Linked DNA regions of Homo sapiens: region 2 is linked to region 1. The links are contacts of gene promoters, found by promoter capture Hi-C in blood cells and fetal thymus (Javierre and others, 2016). All regions are on one chromosome and are shown on one strand. The core of a region is centred on a gene start or on the middle of the fragment in contact, and the rest is flanking DNA. Distances in the headings are between cores, read along the strand shown. Region 1 holds the start of DIS3 (DIS3 exosome endoribonuclease and 3''-5'' exoribonuclease). Region 2 holds the start of KCTD12 (potassium channel tetramerization domain containing 12).

Evidence for each region. The method cuts DNA at HindIII sites, captures the fragments that hold promoters and counts their contacts. A CHiCAGO score of 5 or more calls a contact.
Region 2: the fragment with the promoter of KCTD12 here is called in contact with the fragment with the promoter of DIS3 in region 1 in 2 of 17 cell types (fetal thymus and total B cells); the score reaches 5.9 in fetal thymus.

The regions. Positions count from the first base shown.
Region 1 is chr13:72,779,453-72,785,092 of GRCh38, reverse strand. DIS3 (DIS3 exosome endoribonuclease and 3''-5'' exoribonuclease) reads left to right here and starts at 3,193. Exons shown (of 21, transcript NM_014953.5): 1 at 3,193-3,488; 2 at 4,090-4,247. The coding sequence starts at 3,261. It overlaps PIBF1 (progesterone immunomodulatory binding factor 1), which reads right to left and starts at 2,960. Exons shown (of 18, transcript NM_006346.4): 1 at 2,744-2,960; 2 at 1,372-1,670. The coding sequence starts at 1,623. RefSeq lists enhancers at 3,060-3,169, 3,087-4,001 and a silencer at 3,450-3,499. The HindIII fragment of the contact is 4,441 bases long and covers 1-3,626 here.
Region 2 is chr13:76,885,155-76,890,794 of GRCh38, reverse strand. It overlaps KCTD12 (potassium channel tetramerization domain containing 12), which reads left to right and starts at 4,390. Exons shown (of 1, transcript NM_138444.4): 1 at 4,390-5,640. The coding sequence starts at 4,647. The coding sequence ends at 5,624. RefSeq lists silencers at 4,163-4,592, 4,993-5,262 and an enhancer at 4,876-5,375. The HindIII fragment of the contact is 7,244 bases long and covers 3,689-5,640 here.

The DNA.
Region 1 (5,640 bases), core at 1,944-4,443:
GGTAGAACCCTCACTGTTGGGATTGGTGCCCTTATAAAAGTGATCCCAGAGAGCTAGCTGGGCATGGTGGGGAGCACTTGTAATCCCAGCTACGTGGGAGACTGAGGCAGGAGAATTGCTTGAACCCAAGAGGTGGAGGTTGCAGTGAGCCAAGATTGTGCCACTGAACTCCAGCCTGGGTGACAGAGCAAGACTGTCTCCAACAACAACAACAAAAAACAACAAAATACCTCATATGTTAGATTTTTTAAATTGAGCCTACAAAAGTAATTTATCCATATCTACGTTTAAATCACTCCATATTTCAATACTTAAATTATTATTATTATTTTTTTGAGATAGGGTCTCACTCTGTTACCCAGGCTGGAGTGCAGTGGTACGATCTCAGCTCACTGCAATGTCTGCCCCCGGATTCAAGTGATTCTCCCGCCTCAGCCTCGGAAGTAGCTGGGCCTGCAGGCGCAGCACCACTACGCGGGGCTATTTTATTTTTTTAGTAGCAAGGGTGGTCTCACCATGTTGCTCAGGGTAGTCTCGAACTCCTGAGCTTGGAGCAATCCACTGGCCTCAGCATCCAAAGTGCTGGAATTACAGGTGTGAGCCACCGCACTTGGCCTCCAATTATTATTATTATTATTATTACTAGTTTTTGAGAGTCTTGCTGTGTTGCCCAGGCTGGAGTGCAGTGGCACGATTGTGGCTCACTGCAAACTCTGCCTCCTGGGTTCAAGCAATTCTCCTGCCTCAGCCTCCCGAGCAGCTGGGATTACAGGCACCCACCATCATGGCTGGCTAATTTTTTTTTTTTTTTTTTTTTAAGTAGAGCTGGGGTTTCACAATGTTGGCCAGGTTGGTCTCAAACTCCTGACCTCAGGTGATCCCAACTGACAGATAAAACTGTGTGTATATGTCATGTACAACATAATGTTTTGAAGTATACGTACATTGTGAAATGGTTAACTCTAGCTAATTAAAAAATGTTTTACCTCACATAGTTATTTTAGTAATGAGAACACTTAACATCTGCTGTGTTTTTCAAAAACACAATGTTTTCCAAGATTACAATGTCATTAACTATAGCCACCATGCTGTCCAATAGATCTCTTGAATGTATTCCTCCTATTCAACTGTAATTATGTATCCTTTGACCAACATCTCCCCAACCCTCCTTCACCCCTAACCATGCCAGCCCTTGGTAACCACCATTCTATTCTCTACTTCTATGAACACCAAAATTATTTAAAGGCTGTACTTGTCAAGAAATATAAATGTATCATTTCAAGTTCAGATAATGTGTGTATTTAATTCTTATTTACCTGCCGTTTGAAGACAATAAAGCATATAGAACACAAAATTTAAACCTGATCTTACCTTTGTAAGATAATCCACTTTCAAATTGTCGATCATCATAGTTTTCTGGGATAGCTCAATTTTTAGTAACTGAATATTATGAAGTAGTTCTTTTCGTTCAATTAGCTGCCTGGTGATTCTGACTTTGCCCTCTCGCTCTTCTGATGAGGAAATATCATCCGTAGGAACTGTTGTTTCTAAACTAATATCTTCAGATTCCAGAGAACTAGAGATGTTCACTTTTTTTGACTCCTTTGAAATTTTTCGAGACATTTTTATTATTATGGATCAGTTTTCTTCTCTAATTTGATTTTAATATTCTGTAGGTTAAAAAACATTAATTCAAATGTACTATAAAATTAACTACAGAAATCATGGACTGTATTAAAGAGAGACTAAGGATTCCTTAAATAAATATTAGGCAATTTAGTGCATCCCAAATCTAGAACAGATTATTGCAGTTAAGTTAATGCTCAAATCAAACACATTAATTCCTAATATGAAGTCAGCCTTCGAGAAACTTAAAAAAACAGTTCCTGCGGGGAGGAATCTTACTTGGAGGAAACAAAGAAATGTACAAGATGAAGAAAAAAGCCCATTATAATCAAGAATGGCACCACTAAAACCAACACATGCTCAAAGATAACAGAAATCACGTCTGAGTTGGTCAGGGAAACGTTACACAGAGGTAGCACTTAGAATCTTTAAAGATTTGGACAGGCATGGTAAAAAGGAGAAATCATGCAGTTATTAATGATACGTAAGTGGAAGTAAAAAAACAAAGCCAAGTCTTGGAATAGTTACTCCTTTCACCGCCCCCCCAACACAAACACAAACACACACACACACACACACACACACACACACGCCCTTAACGATCAAGACTGGAAGGCCTTAAATGTCAAAATAGGGTTGGATTTTATTCTACAGGCAATGAGGCATCATTGAAGATGTTTTAAATAGGGAAAACGGGGACAAAAACATTTTTTATAGATAGCAGAATGAAAACAACAGGATATAAGAAAAATTCAAGAAATTCTAAATAGAACTTACTTCTAACTCTCTCATAAGAATGTTAGCAACTACCTTGTTTTAATACCTCATGATATAACAAATTATGCTATTAAATATTTCAGTTTTTCTAAACTGAATGATAAGGAAAGGTGTGTGGAGGGGAAACAGCGAGAACTATACTAAGATCGGCCTCCCTCCTTCTTTTTGAAGGGAAATAGGTAAGAAAAAGTGAATTCAAAGACAAATTCTCTCCTCGATTACAAAGGGCCCGAGACGGGGACTGCCTATACACTCGGCGTGAAAATTAAGCCCCAAACTTGGCAGCTCGGGGGATTCCTTGCCCCACGCGGGAAAGAAAGCGATGATAGTCGCAAGTTACCTCGAAAGTGTCAATTACTCCACACTGAAGCCTTGACCAGCAGCCAGTGCAGACACCGAGGGACCAAAGGCGTCTCCGGTCGGAAGCACAAGGTTGCAGGCCCTCAACAAGGGATTTCAAGGCAGGGGACCGTTAGGACCCGTAACCAAGACAACCATCTCCGCACCCGCAAGGAGGACAGAACCAGCACTCCCACAAGCCGCCGGAAGTCAACTCTCCCGGATGTTCCGAGGAGCGGAAAGCAACACACGTTGTGAGGTGGCGTCCAGAAGGAAGCCCCGCCTAGGCCACGGGCGGAAATGGCTCCTCGCCTTGCTTTGCCGCCCCTCCCCACTCTCGCCCAATCCCCGCGGCCGTCAGAGAGCCAACCAATGTTTATCTCGGCATTTTCCCGCGAGAAGTGTTACTAATATCCGGGAATGGAAAGGGAAGAACCTCCGGGGTTAGGCGTATTCTAGATTGACGCCTTTTGCTGGAAGAGCGCTGCTGGGGTTAGGATTCTGCGCGGCGAGGCAAGATGCTCAAGTCCAAGACGTTCTTAAAAAAGACCCGGGCGGGCGGCGTGATGAAGATCGTGCGCGAGCACTACCTGCGAGACGACATCGGCTGCGGTGCGCCCGGGTGCGCAGCGTGTGGAGGGGCGCACGAGGGGCCGGCCCTGGAGCCGCAGCCCCAGGACCCGGCGAGCAGCGTCTGCCCGCAACCGCACTACTTGCTGCCCGACACTAATGTGTTACTGCACCAGGTGCGTGGGCGGGCGAACCGCGGACAGCGCGGCCCCACGGGGACAAGGGGGTATGACAGGGAAACTGAGGCCCAGGGAGGCGGGTCTTTGGCAGTGTCACATACCTAGCGAAAGGGAAACCCCCTCGGGACCGAAGCTTCCTGTTCCCCAGGCCGAGGTTCTTTTCCTTGTGCTTTAAAAAATTTAGTTCTTGGAGTCGTAGTTCAGACACGTTATTTTTCTAACTCCTGGTGTCTCTTCTGCCTTAGATTGTAAGTGCCTGGAGGCCGGGGACCTGGGCTTCTGTGGCCTCCAGCCTGCGACTCCCAGGCAGCTTGTAAGTGCCTAGGAACAAAAAACTATGTGGGCCAACGTATTCCTTTATTAATACCCTTAATTCTACGAAGTCTTGTGATTGGTCTGTTTAAGTGTGCTTTTTTTAATAGATCTGAAGGGTTTAGTGACTATTGTCTCGTTTTCTATAGCCAAATAGCTTCTTGGCTTAACTTATTCAGTGTTTTTAAAACATAAAGTATTTATGCCCAACATAAAACAGGATTTTATGTTTGACAGAGCTATTTACAAATGAATATAGGAAAAATTAACTTTATCTTTCTTTAAGATTGATGTTCTTGAGGACCCTGCCATCAGGAATGTAATTGTGCTACAAACAGTTCTTCAAGAAGTGAGAAATCGCAGTGCCCCCGTATATAAACGCATCCGAGATGTGACTAATAACCAAGAGAAGCATTTCTATACTTTCACTAATGAGCACCATAGGTAGGAGGAATATTACGTTAAATATCAGAAAACCACAGGATTAGCAAAATTCGGGAGAGGGTTCCTGTGAGTAATTTATGACATTGTCAGAAGATAAGTGATAGATTTCATACCTTATTTAATTCTTACATGGCTGTGCAGAAGATAATGCTAAGTGGATCTCTCTAAGGTCACACAGGCATTGATGGGCTCAAGCCTAAAACCAAGGTCTGCTGACTCCTAGACTACAATAGGTACTTTAATTTCCAAAATGTTTTCATTTTGAATTGGTTTTAGCATGAGTTGGACCATAGAATCTTGGAAGATGAGATTTGCTTAAGTTCCTGGAATACCATATTATGTGAACAACTAACAGAGGGTAATAAAATATATGAGTTTGTGAAGTTTCTATTTTGTTTAAAAATAGAAAGTAGATTTATTCTTAATGGTCTTTTTAAAAGTTTAATACTTTGCAGCTGATTACATTGAGCAAGATTAGGTTAAGGAATAGAATTCTTTTTTTTTTTTTTTTTTTTTTTTTGAGATGGAGTCTCACTCTGTCACCCAGGCTGGAGTGCAGTGGTGTGATCTCTGCTCACTGCAACCTCCACCTCCCAAGTTCAAGCGATTCTTCTGCCTCAGCCTCCTGAGTAGCTGGGATTACAGTCACGCACCACTATGCCAGGCTAATTTTTGTATTTTTAGTAGAGACAGGGTTTCACCATGTTGGTCAGGCTGGTCTCGAATTCCTGACCTCGTGATCCACCTGCCTCAGCCTCTCAAAGTGGTGGGATTACAGGCATGAGCTACCGTGCCTGGCCAGGAATATAATTCTTTGTTGTGCTTTTAGATTCAAGACCTTTGAACTCAGTGTGTGGTCTCAAAAATATGATATTGCCTATTACGTTATATTACATAAATAATCTATGATGAGTATGGTACTTTTATTGGATTAGATCAGGGCTTCTCAATCTTGGCATTATAGATATTTTGAACTGAATAATTTTTTTGTGGTGGAAAGGCTGTTTTATACATTGTAGTATGTTTAACAGTGTTCCTAGCCTATTTGGCAGGATCACCACCCCTTACCCCCCCCACCACCACCACCACCACCACCACTCAGTTGTAATGATACAAAATGCCCTGAGGGGTGAATTCACTCAATTGAGAACCATTGGATTAGAGTGTAGACTTCTGGTAATGAAATTCCATCAGATTATGCACATTTTTAAAAACCTTAATATCTCAACTTTCTTGATTCTTATATCTCAAACTTCAATGTTCTTGTAAAGAATACCAGTAAAGCCCTTGTAGGCTTCTTATTGTTAGTACCTCCTTGAAATCCAGAAATAGCAACATCACTTGTTTTTCAGTGCAGAAAGACCCAAGTTTAAAACCAATTCAAAAATTTATG
Region 2 (5,640 bases), core at 3,141-5,640, 4.1 Mb before region 1:
CTCCTTTCATACAAAGGGTATACATTCCAAGACCCTCAGTGGGTGACTGAAACCGTAGGTAGTACTGAACCTGATTGCTGTCCATTGGAACATGTTTCTCTTCATGTCTTCAATCCACAAGTTTAATGCCTTTTCCATTTTCACTACACACTTATCATGCACTCTGTGCCATACGTTTTGTGTTTGGAGGTGTGACAGCAAAACTAGCACAAATTTTTCCTTCATAATTTCACAGAAATTTCACAATGTCTACATTCTTATCATAGATCTTAGCAACCTTGGGATGTAACTTTTTTTTTCTTATTAAATTGAGAACTTTCACCTTTTCACTTAAAGGCAGCATTTTATGGCTTCTCTTTGGCATATCTGAATTGCCAGCATCACTACTCTTGTAATTTGTGGCCATTTATTAAGTAAACTGAGTGTTACTTGAACACAAGCACTGTGATAGGGTGATACTAAGACAGTTGATCTGACAGCTGAGATGGCTACTAAGTGACTCATGGGTTGGGAGTGTAGAGGTGTGGATATTCATGTCCAGGGCAAGACGAAGCAGGACAGTGGGAGATTTCATCACACTACTCTGAATGGTGTGCAATTTTGAATTTATGAATTAGTTATATTTCTGGAATTTCCATGTAATATTTTCAAACCACAGCTGACCATGGGTAACTGAAACCATGGTAATGGAAACTTTGGATAAGAAGGATTACTGTGGGGAGTGGGAGGGGAAGCTGGTTTGAAGAGAAGGCAGTAGGTGGGGGAGAAGATGCAAATGAGATGAGAATGTAGGTCCAGAGATGTTTCCAGTATCCTCCACTTTAGGATCAAAGGACAGGTTACTTGCAGGCACACTGTATCTTATTCAGGAAAATACAAAGAGTTACTTGAAAAGGAGCAATGACCATCAATTAGCAATGACCATCATTAGAAACTGGTTTGAGACTAAACACAGGGCTAGTGGGTTTCCAAATCCTCCCCAATCCCTTGCAATCAAGCATATTTAACATACTGGAGATGCTAAAGAGTTATGACTCTCTTCTTATAAACACTCAGGCCCTCAAGTCCCAGCATCAGAGTTCCCCAGTAGTATTTCCTTTTGAATTCTGTGATACCAACCAATAGGCAAGAAACAGAACACACAAAATTAACTAGAAAAACATTCCTTGTGTTTCAAATCACCTGTTTCATTCATTATTATATCTCTCATGCATTACCTGGCTTCCATAAGGAAATACCAATGGCTTTTCTGCAGTAGACTAGCTGGTGGTTGATGACTACCTTATGTCAAGATGTAGAGAATGATGATAGTAGGCTGCAGGTAGTGAATAAGCACACGGTATCACTCACATTTGACTCTGTACTGATCATCTCAAGGGTACTTTGGAGATTCACAGGATACAAGTAGATGACACAATACATAAACTTTCAATGTGAGCTCACTCATAACTCAGGCCCCTTTAACTTGTTTGACCCTGTGCCTGGAATGCTCTTCCTCCAAAACTTCCCATGGCTGTCTCTTTCTTATTATTCAGCTCAAATGTCACATTCACAGAGATGCCTTCCCCAGGCACTCTGTATAAAGTAGTATTCCACACTCAGTCCCTCTATCACATCTTATAATTTTATTTTCTTTGTGGCATTTATCACCACCTGAAATAGGCTTACTTATCTTTATACTATATTTATTTGTCTCCCTCGCAAGACTATAAGCTCCTAGTGGGCAGTGATTATTTTTTAACATGCAGCCTGGAATATAGTAGTAGGCCCTGAATAAATAGTGGTTGAATGCTTGCGTGAGCAACAGATATTTATCAAATGCCTGTAATATACCAGCTCTGTTCTAGGCAGTGGGGGTGTGGCAGTGAACCAAGCAGACAAAAACTGCTGAAGTCTTGGAGTTTATATTCTGATGTAGGAAAAGAGTCAACAAATAAGGCAAGGAAGAGGAAGCTGCAGTGAGGCTGTGCTGCATTAAGAAGTGGAATCAAGGAAAGGTCTTGCTGGGCAGACCTGAAGAAGGTGAGAAGGGAGGGACCTGAACAAGGTGAGGAACACGGGAGGGAGGAGAAATGAGACTTTTACAAGGATGTGCAAAGGCCCTGAGAAAACAAGAAAGGGGCTATGTGGCTAAAGCCAGCCAGCTCCTGGGGGCAGGGCAGGAGATGTGTCAGAGAGGTGCTGGTGGGATAACTCCAAACATGTAGAGTCTTGTAAGCCACTGAGAGGACTTTGGATTTTGCTCTTTCTGAGATAGGAAGCCACTGGCAGGCTCTGAGCAGAGTGACATACCAGCCTTGGATTATAAGCAGGGTCCCTGTTTTTGTTCTGGTGATACAAGACTGTAGGAGCAGAAGTAGAAGCAGTTAGGAGACCAGTGCAATAATCCAGGCAAGAGATGATGGTGGCTTGGTCCAGGGTGATGATAGGGAGATGGTGAAATACGTTAATAGTCTAGAAAGATTTTTAACACAGAGCTGGCAGGATTTGCTGATGCAATGAGCAATGGTAATTATACAAAAATATGTGCAGAACTGATACAAAGAAGGCTTTTCTTGGATTTGTAGAAAAGAGGCTGGTTTTGTCAGGTCTCTGACACTAATATAACGCCTAGTAGCACAACCACCTCGAAATCCTGCACTGGGACTTGGAAGTTTTGTGTTATCTATTATTTATCCCAAAGAACAGAACAACAACAAAAAAAGAATGTTGAAATACATTCAGTATCAAAATCTGTACTTGCAATTAAGATAACTGGTTTGGGGGTTGATCTCATTTCAGCACACTGACATGAGCGCGGTAATTGTTGAGCAGATATAAACATTTCAAAATAAAAATGACATTTATCTGTGAGGAGACTGTGAAGCTCACTGGGTAGTTACACAGAAGGATAAATTTTATCAAGAACAAAGATCTTGCCTGATTTATCCTGATGTGTGGTCTATACTTCAAACTGATGTGATAACTGCGCAGACCCCTGACCCTTTGCTTATTGGGCTACACTGAAAGCGCTTTGGAGATTATTCGCCTTTGCATTCCTCACTCCCTGGTGCCCTGCAAATAATAGCAGGTACACAAGAAACATTCAGTGACCCAATCATTTCTTGACACCCTCCTCTGCACTCTTCTCTTTTTGCAGCATTCAGGAGCTCTTACTTATTTTCATACCCAAATCAGTGATCAGATAATCACTCATAAATATGACATTTCAGAACGTGCTGGGAGCAGCGCAGACAGTGTGTAGGGAGCCATCCAGAGGCCCCACCCACCTGGGAAGCCAGGGAAAGCTTCCAGGGGGAGGGGGCGGTTCTGTGGGCTGCAGTCCGAGGGGGAAAAGCAAACGTGTAGGCAGCAGGAGTTGAGAGATGGGATCCAGACAAGGGCCTTCAGATATATAAATATCCCTTTCTGAGACTGACGGGAACTTGGACAGGGCCGAAGAGTGACCGAGGCATGCGGGAGAGAAGGGGCGCCTGGACTTTTGGAAGGATAAACATGCAGGCGCCAAAGGTGGCTTTAAAAATTACGTTAGATCTGCAACTGTTGTGAGTCTAAGGGCGCGATTCAACGAAGGCTGAATGGGACCCGGAGACCGAACGTTCCGGAGTCTTACCCCTTCACTTCGAAGTGAAGTGCCTCGAAGGCCCTGCGGGAAGAGGGAATTGCAATTAAGAGCAGATTTGAAGCTTCATCTCATTTTGTCTCTGCAGCCAGAAAATAAACTATCGTAAAGCATCCTACTGCGGGACACTGAGGTTTGCTTTTTGTTTCTAGGTTTATTTATTTATTTTCCAGGCTGGCTGCAAGGCAACTTGAACAAAATCTGGCTGCGCTCGGACTGGGGCGGCTCTTTCGTCTCTCCAGGTTTTTCGCGTCTCTCTACTTTCAGTGACACGACAACCAACGATGGCAGGCCGCAGCTGCACTGCTGGAAGCGCCCAGTTCCGCAGGCGGGAGGGCCGGAGGCGGCCACGCATTTCCACTCCCGGGGCGACAGGCTTCCGAAAGTTCACGTCCTCCTTCCAGAGTCCTTGGGTGCGGGCTGGGGCGAGAGGGGAGGGGGCGCGGTGACTGTCCCTCCAAGGAGCTGTCTTCCGAAGCCGCCAAGTCTCGGGCGGGTCCTCTTCGGAAGAGGGAGAAAGTTGGGCGGGACCACGGGGCGGGGCTGGTGGGTGGGGAGCGGGTGGGAGTCCGGGCGCCCCCAGCGCTCGCGAGCCGGGGTGGAGCCAGCAGCCCCGCGTGGCGTCCGCGTTTAAGATGCAAATCGAGTCCCCGCTCCCCACCTCCCCTCGCCCGGTAAGCGAGGCTCCGCCGCCGCCCACGCCTCCTGCGCGCCACGGCACCAGAGCAGGCGGCTCTACTTAAGCAGCGCGCGGGCCGCGACCCGGCACTCGCCTGGAGCGCGCGGGCAAGGCGGGCGGAGCGCACTGGAACTCAAGGGGGCGCACAGCGGCGCGCTCGCACCGCTCGGCTCCGCGCGGCTCTAGGAGGTGGCGGCGGTGGCGGTGGCGGCGGTGGCGGCGGCGGCGGCGGCGGGGCGCAGGGCTGAGCGAGCGTCCGGGTTCCGGGGCTCCGGGGAAGGCGGTTGCAGCTCCTGAGTGCAGCGCGGCTTCCTGCCACTGTCCCGGCCCGGCCACCTCTCTGTCATGGCTCTGGCGGACAGCACACGTGGATTACCCAACGGGGGCGGCGGCGGGGGCGGCAGTGGCTCCTCGTCGTCCTCCGCGGAGCCACCGCTCTTCCCCGACATCGTGGAGCTGAACGTGGGGGGCCAGGTGTACGTGACCCGGCGCTGCACGGTGGTGTCGGTGCCCGACTCGCTGCTCTGGCGCATGTTCACGCAGCAGCAGCCGCAGGAGCTGGCCCGGGACAGCAAAGGCCGCTTCTTTCTGGACCGGGACGGCTTCCTCTTCCGCTACATCCTGGATTACCTGCGGGACTTGCAGCTCGTGCTGCCCGACTACTTCCCCGAGCGCAGCCGGCTGCAGCGCGAGGCCGAGTACTTCGAGCTGCCAGAGCTCGTGCGCCGCCTCGGGGCGCCCCAGCAGCCCGGCCCGGGGCCGCCGCCCTCGCGGCGCGGGGTGCACAAGGAGGGCTCGCTGGGTGACGAGCTGCTGCCGCTTGGCTACTCGGAGCCCGAACAGCAGGAGGGCGCCTCTGCCGGGGCGCCGTCGCCCACGCTGGAGCTGGCTAGCCGCAGTCCGTCCGGGGGCGCGGCGGGCCCGCTGCTCACGCCGTCCCAGTCGCTGGACGGCAGCCGGCGCTCGGGCTACATCACCATCGGCTACCGCGGCTCCTACACCATCGGGCGGGACGCGCAGGCGGACGCCAAGTTCCGGCGAGTGGCGCGCATCACCGTTTGCGGAAAGACGTCGCTGGCCAAGGAGGTGTTTGGGGACACCCTGAACGAAAGCCGGGACCCCGACCGTCCCCCGGAGCGCTACACCTCGCGCTATTACCTCAAGTTCAACTTCCTGGAGCAGGCCTTCGACAAGCTGTCCGAGTCGGGCTTCCACATGGTGGCGTGCAGCTCCACGGGCACCTGCGCCTTTGCCAGCAGCACCGACCAGAGCGAGGACAAGATCTGGACCAGCTACACCGAGTACGTCTTCTGCAGGGAGTGAGCTCCCCAGACCCCCT